3 separate regions of the Homo sapiens genome follow, and all the other regions are linked to region 1. The links are contacts of gene promoters, found by promoter capture Hi-C in blood cells and fetal thymus (Javierre and others, 2016). All regions are on one chromosome and are shown on one strand. Each heading gives the region's core, a stretch centred on a gene start or on the middle of the fragment in contact. The rest is flanking DNA. Distances are from core to core; before and after follow the strand shown. Region 1 holds the start of RNF115 (ring finger protein 115). Region 2 overlaps RNF115 (ring finger protein 115). Region 3 overlaps ITGA10 (integrin subunit alpha 10).

Region 1 (2,629 bases), core at 83-2,582:
GAAAATTATTCATAATAGGCTGGCGCGGTGGCTCAGGCCTGTAATCCTAGCACTTTGGGAGACCGAGGTGGGCGTATCATGAGGTCAGGAGTTTGAGACCAGCCTGGCCAATATAGTGAAACCCCTTCTCTACTAAAAACACACAAAAAAATTAGCTGGGCGTGGTGGCGGGTGCCTGTAATCCCAGCTACTAGGGAGGCTGAGACAGGAGAATCGCTTGAAGCCGGGAGGCAGAGGTTGCAGTGAGCCGAGATCGCGCCACTGCACTCCAACCCGGGCGACAGTGCGAGATTCTGTCTCCAAAACAAAAAAAAACAAAAAAAATTACTCATAATATATTAAGTGACAGAAGCAAGCTGAAAAAATATAAAAATTCAATTATTGTAAAAAAAAAGGAAAAATGTATGCATAGGAAAAGACTATGCATCAAATTTATCTCTATGGGATTATGCGTGATTCTGATTTTCCTTAAAGATTGGGAGATGATTTTGCGGTCTGTCACAGACCTTAGTTTCTACACTTCACTGCTTGGAAGAATTAAGGTCACTGTTCACAGCTCGGTGGGAGTGAACAGGCAGTGTTATTCTCAGTCCATAAAGGAAATGATAATTTCGAAAAAGAAATTTAGGAGGTAAAGGACTGCTTCTCAACAGGGTGTGTCAAACAGGAGATGAGGTTACGTTGTTTGCAGGACAGTATTCAATTCTTAAACTTCTACTCCTTGACAAAGTTGACACAATCAGAAACGGACGTAGTTAATTTTATGATTACTTCCTTATTACAAATTGCTACCAAACATTGTTTACTTATTTCTTCCAATTCCTAAGAAGCCAAGTCTTTGCCTCCCCGTCCCCACCCCGCCTCAGTATCACCAGAGACCTATTTCGTCCATCCACATATCTTTGGAGAAGCATTCCCAGATCCTTTGCCATCCTCGGAAAGGGCTTCCAAGGCGCTTGGCTCCTAGCTCTACACTTCCTTTACACAGGTTCCCGTTTCGGACGTGGTCTCTTGGTCCAGTCAGTGCCGCCACGTTCAGACAGCATTTTCCACTAACCTCAGGGTCAGCGCAATCCGGGGGCTCCAACTCCAATTCGGCTGAGCTTCCCGCGACGGCTTCCTACGGCTCCCGCTGGCCTTCTAGGCCGAGGTGGAGCCCACCGCCCTTTCTAGGACGCGGATCGCCACCGAAGAAGACGCGGAAAAGCAAAAAGCGCGTGCCACTCTACCCCAGAGTTTCGGCGGCTTCCGGGGACGCTCTTTCTTTCTTCTCGCTGGAAGACTGGAGGACCAGCGAGGGGCTGTTTGTGGAGCCGGCGGGCGGGCCGTTTGTCTCTCCTTCCTGCGCCTCTTTGGTGCTGGGAGGCGGGCCGCAGGGTAGCTGTTGGCGCCGCCGCGTTTCTGGGCCTGGCCAACTCACGTGACCGACGCGGGCTCTGAAGCGGTGGGCCGCACCGAGGCGGCGGCGGCGGCGACGACTGCAGCTCGGGAGGTAGCGGCCTGGCGAGGGACGGGCCGGCTGCCCTCTCGGACGGCCGCGGCGGAGGGCAAAAATGGCGGAGGCTTCGGCGGCCGGGGCGGACTCGGGCGCCGCTGTAGCCGCCCACCGGTTTTTCTGCCACTTTTGCAAGGGCGAGGTCAGCCCCAAACTACCGGTAAGAGCGCTGTGTTCTCTATACTTGGGAACCTCATAGATTCCTGGCCCCGATTTCCCGGAACTGGGTCTGGAGCTTTCTGCACATCATTGACTCGCCCGACATCGGTCTGCCGAATACCTGCTGCCCACTTCTAAGCCGCCGGCCCTAAACCCTGGGCATCACGGCCTCGGCCCCGTACCTCCTGCCCACCTCTTAATTCATCCTGGGCTGCTCCACCTGACCTCACCTCTTTACCTCCCGTGTCCTTAATTTTTTTTTTTCTTAGCAAGTTTCCCTCTGATAACTCTCCCCTCAATTTTCTTGCATTCTTTTATACCTGGTCTTTTTCCTACGATGACCTCCCCCCACACTTCTTCCACTGTGTCTTCTCACCTTCCTCTGTGTTCTTTTCCACTTTTCACCCCCCACCGCCCCCGCCACCTCCCTTGTCAGTGAAGCGAAATAGCGGATTGCTGAGGATTGTCACTCTTCGGTTTTTTCTAGGGAAGGAAGCACAGAAAGGGGGTTGGAAGGTATCTGTGGGGCGAAAAGGGGGATTTTGCTCTTCAGTGGTTTCCAGGGTCCTTGTGACAGTGAAGACAGCAGCGTACTAATGACTTGCAGACGGTCTGCACTCCTATCACTGTTGAAGGAAATGGCTTTAGGAAGAAGGCAGGACGTACTGTTTCAACTTCGTTTATTTTGGTTGTCATGCTGCCAGTGTCTTTAATATCATTGTTCCGCCCCCCGCCCTGTCCCTTTCTTCACCTAAGAAAAAGAGCCGGGACAGAATGTTGGGGATGCTTCCTCTGACGTGAAATTGGTTTTCACGAGTTTCTGCCAGAGTGTTAGCCCCTTGAGAGGCAGTGCTGTGGTTGGGAAGAAAACACTTTTGTAGGTCAGGCGCGGTGGCTTAGGTCTGTAATCCCAGTGCTTTGGGAGGACGAGGCAGGAGGATTGCTTGAGGCCAGGAGTTTGAGACCAGCCTGGGC
Region 2 (2,629 bases), core at 65-2,564, 70 kb after region 1:
CCAAAGTTCTGGGATTATAGGCAAGAGCCACCACACCCGGCCATTTCCCCCACTTTTTTTTACCTTGTCTTGGAAGTCACAGATTATCAATTCTGCCATATTCTATTGTTAAGTGAGTCACTAAGTCCAGCCCACACTGAAGGGAAGATTATCAAATAATTTTTGGACATATTTTTAAAACAACACGAAGCATTCTAAAAAAAAGAAAACACAATGAATTCATAGAAGCAGAGAATAGAATGGTAGTTACTAGGAGCTGTGGGGCAGAGGGGGTGGATTAGAGAGATGTTGAAGGATACAAAATTTTAGTTAAAAGTTCAAGAGATCTGTTGTACAACGTGGGTGACAGTAGTTAATAACAATGTTTTCAGCCAGGTGGGGTGGCTCATGCCTATAATCCCAGCACTTTGGGAGGCCAAGGCGGGCGGATTACTTGACAGCCCGGCCAACATGGTGAAACCCCATCTCTACTAAAAATACAAAAATTAGCCAGGCGTGGTGGTGTGCATCTGTAATCCCAGCTACTTGGGAGGCTGAAGCACAAGAATTGCTTGAACCTGGGATATGGAGGTTGCAGTGAGCTGAGATGGTGCCTCTGCACTCCATCCTAGGTGACAGAGCAAGACTTCATCTCAAAAAAAGAAAAAAAAAAAACAACCAGTGTTTTGTACATCTGAAAATTGCTGAGAGAGTAGATTTTAAGGGTTATTGTTGCAAATAAGTTTGTGAGGTAATGCATATGTTGATAGTTTGATGTAGTCATTCCACAATGCATACATATTTCAAAATATGTTATATACCATAATATATGCAATTTTTGTCAGTTAAAAATAAATAATGAAAAATAATACAAAAAAGCAAGCAAACAAACGGAATAGTGTAGTTAGCTGCTGTTGAACTTTAGTAGCAGGGAAAGTCTAATGTTGGCTATTGCCATTGTTATATTAATTGGCCTAATAAGTAAAGTGGGAACCAGGGACTTAAAATTGCATATCATTGCTGGGCGTGGTGGCTCACACCTGTAATCCCAGCACTTTGGGAGGCTGAGGTCAGGAGGTCAAGATCAGCTTTGTCAACATGGTGAAACCCCATCTCTACTAAATCTACTAAGTATACAAAAAATTAGCCGGGTGTGGTGGCAGGTGCCTATAATCCCAGCTACTCGGGAGGCTAAGGCAGGAGAATTGCCTGAACCTGGGAGGCAGAGGTTGCAGTGAGCCGAGATCGCTCCACTGCACTCCAGCCTGGGCGGCAGAGCGAGACTCTGTCTCAAAAAAGAAAAAAAATTGCATATCATCCAGAACACAGAAGATCCAGTGAAACAATTTCTTCAGGTTTTTCTTTTGCTGAGGCATCACTCCAGTATCTCTTTGGGTAACAAAGACTCATTCGTGTAAAGAACTGTGTACCTGTGCCATCTTAAGTATTCAGAGTGACAAATGCTAAGCATGTGTGTGTTTATATGTGTTTGTGTTATAATCATCTGAAACAACCTTAACATAGAATTATTGCTTAAACTTTTTTTTAAAGGACTCTTTAAATGATATCTTATTCAGAAACCCAATGTGTACAACATACAAAAATGGAACTACCCTTGTTAAAGGGAGGTGGGTCCAGAGTTCCACTGGCTCGGCATCCCTTTTAACCCTTCCTTATGTTGATGTCAGATATTCAGGGAACATAGTTTGAAAAACTATACCATACCATCAGATCCCTTTCCAGCTTAATTCACAAAAATCTATTAATCTGTAAGATAGCAGAGCTCAGGAAGATAGCCATAATAGCAAAATAGCACACCGCTGTGTGGCAGGCTGATTTCTGATGCTGTCTCTTGTGTACTAGCCAATGAAAAGCCATTTTGGTTTAGGGAATTAGTTGGTGATTAGGCAGCCATGGATATCTGTAGAGTACTTTTCATTAGTCTGTTGTCTTATCTAATTTTTTCTTCTGTAACAGAATACTACAACACATCTTTGCAGGATTCTTTGCAAATTCTGCCATTCCTGGATCTCCACACCCTTTTTCCTGGTAAGTAACTAATTGTTTTCTATCTTACTCTATTGGAGTGACATATTTTAGGTGCTGTCATTTCTGTGCAGTAGAGAAAAAGAGCTGCATAGGCCGGGTGCGGTGGCTCATGCCTCTAATCCCAGCACTTTGGGAGGCCGAGGCTGGCGGATCACGAGGTCAGGAGATCGAGGCCATCCTGGCTAACATGGTGAAACCCCGTCTCTACTAAAAATATAAAAAATTAGCCAGGCGTGGTGGCATGCTTCTGTAGTCCCAGCTACTCGGAGGCTGAGGCAGGAGAATCACTTGAACCCGGGAGGTGGAGGTTGCAGTGAGCCGAGATCGCGCCACTGTACTCCAGCTTGGGCGACAGAAAGAGACCCTGTCTCAAAAAAAAAAAAAAAAAAAAAGAGCTGCATAGGTGAGTATGTAGATGTAACTGGAGGCTGCTACACTGCCATTATCTGCTAAGCCCAAACTTAATCAGAACTTTTTTTTTTATTATTATTCAGGCTCAGGAAGGCCGTCCTGGTCCCCCAGGATGTTTGGGTGCTAGAAATGTCTTGATTCCTTTTATATTCAGGTCTGAGAGTTGTATTGAGGTAGAGAATGAGATGGT
Region 3 (2,629 bases), core at 82-2,581, 68 kb before region 1:
CAGATGTGACCAGGGGTTTTCCATCTATTACCCTTCCTCTCTTTTCCCATTGGTCTTCAGCCTTTTCTTCTGGTCTTGAGAGCCCTCAACATTATGCCTCTCAGCCTCAACTTTGCTGTTGGGATTCCAAAGAACTATATCACCTGATAATGGCTCATTTTAAATGTCTTCCTATCCACTTGTTCCATAGGCCAAGTTCAAGTCCCTGACGGTGGTCAGCACCTTTGAGCTGGGAACCGAAGAGGGCAGTGTCCTACAGCTGACTGAAGCCTCCCGTTGGAGTGAGGTAGGGCTGGAGACCGAGTCTGAGAGCTGTGAAAATAATGATGATGGGTATGTGGTAGGGCCACCCGTGGGCTTTTTCAGAACGAAGGCATCTCCATCAGGCAGCAGGATCCTAGTGTTCCACTGCCGCCATTCCTGCCTCAGTTTCTTTCCTTTAAGTAGCAGGAGGTTATTTATTCTATTTGGGGGCTGGCTTTGATATAATGTGGGGTGAGGCTAGCTGGGTTATAGGATGCATGTAGAAAACTACTCTTCTGTCCACGCAGAGCCTCTTGGAGGTGGTTCAGACCCGGCCTATCCTCATCTCCCTGTGGATCCTCATAGGCAGTGTCCTGGGAGGGTTGCTCCTGCTTGCTCTCCTTGTCTTCTGCCTGTGGAAGGTAAGCACTGCTTTAGTGGGGAGTGTGGAGCATGATGCCCATGAGTTGAGGGATCCTTGATTATAGCAGAGAGAACAGGATTTGTGCTGGGCAGCTAACCAGGCTGTGGATGTCATGCCCAGATCTCCTTCACTGTACCCCACAAATGTTGGTTAAATTATTCTAAGCCAAATAAAATAAATTTGAATTCCATTTTTGGAAACAGAACAAAAGTGAAGACCTCAGATAAGTCTGAGAGCTACTGGCAAGGTTCCCAGTCTAGGCATTTGGCAGTGACGCTTATCTTTTCTTCTACAGCTTGGCTTCTTTGCCCATAAGAAAATCCCTGAGGAAGAAAAAAGAGAAGAGAAGTTGGAGCAATGAATGTAGAATAAGGGTCTAGAAAGTCCTCCCTGGCAGCTTCTTCAAGAGACTTGCATAAAAGCAGAGGTTTGGGGGCTCAGATGGGACAAGAAGCCGCCTCTGGACTATCTCCCCAGACCAGCAGCCTGACTTGACTTTTGAGTCCTAGGGATGCTGCTGGCTAGAGATGAGGCTTTACCTCAGACAAGAAGAGCTGGCACCAAAACTAGCCATGCTCCCACCCTCTGCTTCCCTCCTCCTCGTGATCCTGGTTCCATAGCCAACACTGGGGCTTTTGTTTGGGGTCCTTTTATCCCCAGGAATCAATAATTTTTTTGCCTAGGTGCCTGACTCCTTTCAGATTCCCTCTTTATCTTCCCTCACAGTTTGGAAAGGATGAGGGTTATCTTCCTCGATTCTTCCACCCTCTCACTTTCCTGCCTGTTCCCCACTCCACAGGAGGGAGCTGACGTTGGCTTGAAAGGAGTAAAGTCAACATCTGCTGCTTTCCTGTGGACTCTGGTGATTCATAGAGCCGGATGGGGAGAGTCAACAGGAAAAAAGGAGGGAGGAGGAAAAGCCACAAGAGACATTCTGTACAATTCCAAGGAACAGAGAAGCCTTTAGACAGGCAACTGCCATCCCCCCTGAAACCTGAGACCTGTAGTGCACTCGACCGCCCTCAGGTGTTGGTGAAACAGAGCTGCCCCCAGGCTCGCTGGGCATAGGCTTCCTGATTCCAAGCCTTTTCTGGGAGCAAAGCCAGGGCCTGGTGCCTGATTTTCTGAAGCCAGGAGCCCTCAGGTGGCTGGAGCTGGAATAGCAGGGAGGACTGGGTGTACCTAGGCAGTATTTTCTCTACTTCTCTCAAGTCTTATACTCACTCTTGAGCCCTCCTTGGGGCCTGCTTAGAAAGCAGACAGGAGAGAGAGTACTGCTACTTGATGATGGGAAATGCTTTCACTTTACCAGCTTTGGGAAGCAGCAGCCCCATGGGATCTAAAAGTGTGGAGTCTGCATTAAGAAACCTACATGGGTGGCATGGGGCTCTGGGGAGCAAGCCCTTACTTGCTCAGCACTGGTTATGTAGCACAAATAGCTCCTAGGAAAATGTTTCTGGGGCAACCCTAGAACCCTGGTCATATTTTGCAGGGTTTCTCTGGTGGAATCAGTTTGCCAGCCCTTGCTTGATGCTTACTGGAAATCTCCAGGTTAATTTCTATCTCTGATCCCTCCCCAACCCACTCCATATTTGGGTCATGGACAGTAAAGGCAGTTGGATTCTCATAGACAACTGGGTAACTTATATTTCTTTGTAATCAAGACTTGAGATATCGAAGTCAGTTATTGGTCTCCAGAGTGCAGCTCTGGGAGCCTTTTGAAGAATCAGCACTCATTAAGAGCTGAGAAGAGAGAAGACCTGATTGGGTGGTTGACTAGCAGTCACAGAACCTGTCCTCCCAGGCTGTTCCTGAGGCCTGACCACAGTATTTATTTTGGCATGTCTCTGGCCTTCTGCAGAGGCCCACCCTCATGGGCATTGTCTCTGTTTCCCAGTGGGGTGGACAGTATATCAGATGGTCAGAACAAATAAAGTTCAGTGTCAAATGACTTTTGGCTCT

What was found. Contacts are between HindIII fragments. The CHiCAGO score rates a contact against its expected background, and 5 or more counts as called.
Region 2: a contact is called between a fragment that was not itself captured here and the fragment with the promoter of RNF115 in region 1, in 1 of 17 cell types (endothelial precursors). The highest score is 5.5, in endothelial precursors.
Region 3: a fragment that was not itself captured here is called in contact with the fragment with the promoter of RNF115 in region 1 in 1 of 17 cell types (erythroblasts); the score reaches 5.1 in erythroblasts.

What each region holds. Positions count from the first base shown.
Region 1 is chr1:145,822,798-145,825,426 of GRCh38, reverse strand. It overlaps RNF115 (ring finger protein 115), which reads left to right and starts at 1,332. Exons shown (of 9, transcript NM_014455.4): 1 at 1,332-1,655. The coding sequence starts at 1,554. It overlaps POLR3C (RNA polymerase III subunit C), which reads right to left and starts at 1,227. Exons shown (of 15, transcript NM_006468.8): 1 at 1,058-1,227. RefSeq lists an enhancer at 967-1,366. The HindIII fragment of the contact is 15,759 bases long and covers 1-2,629 here.
Region 2 is chr1:145,752,377-145,755,005 of GRCh38, reverse strand. It overlaps RNF115 (ring finger protein 115), which reads left to right. Exons shown (of 9, transcript NM_014455.4): 5 at 1,957-2,028. Among named protein-coding and RNA genes, the nearest start is that of CD160, 34 kb to the right of the region's middle. The HindIII fragment of the contact is 5,705 bases long and covers 1-2,629 here.
Region 3 is chr1:145,891,197-145,893,825 of GRCh38, reverse strand. ITGA10 (integrin subunit alpha 10) reads left to right here. Exons shown (of 30, transcript NM_003637.5): 28 at 191-286; 29 at 552-665; 30 at 963-2,618. The coding sequence ends at 1,028. Among named protein-coding and RNA genes, the nearest start is that of ANKRD35-DT, 6.3 kb to the right of the region's middle. The HindIII fragment of the contact is 8,055 bases long and covers 1-2,629 here.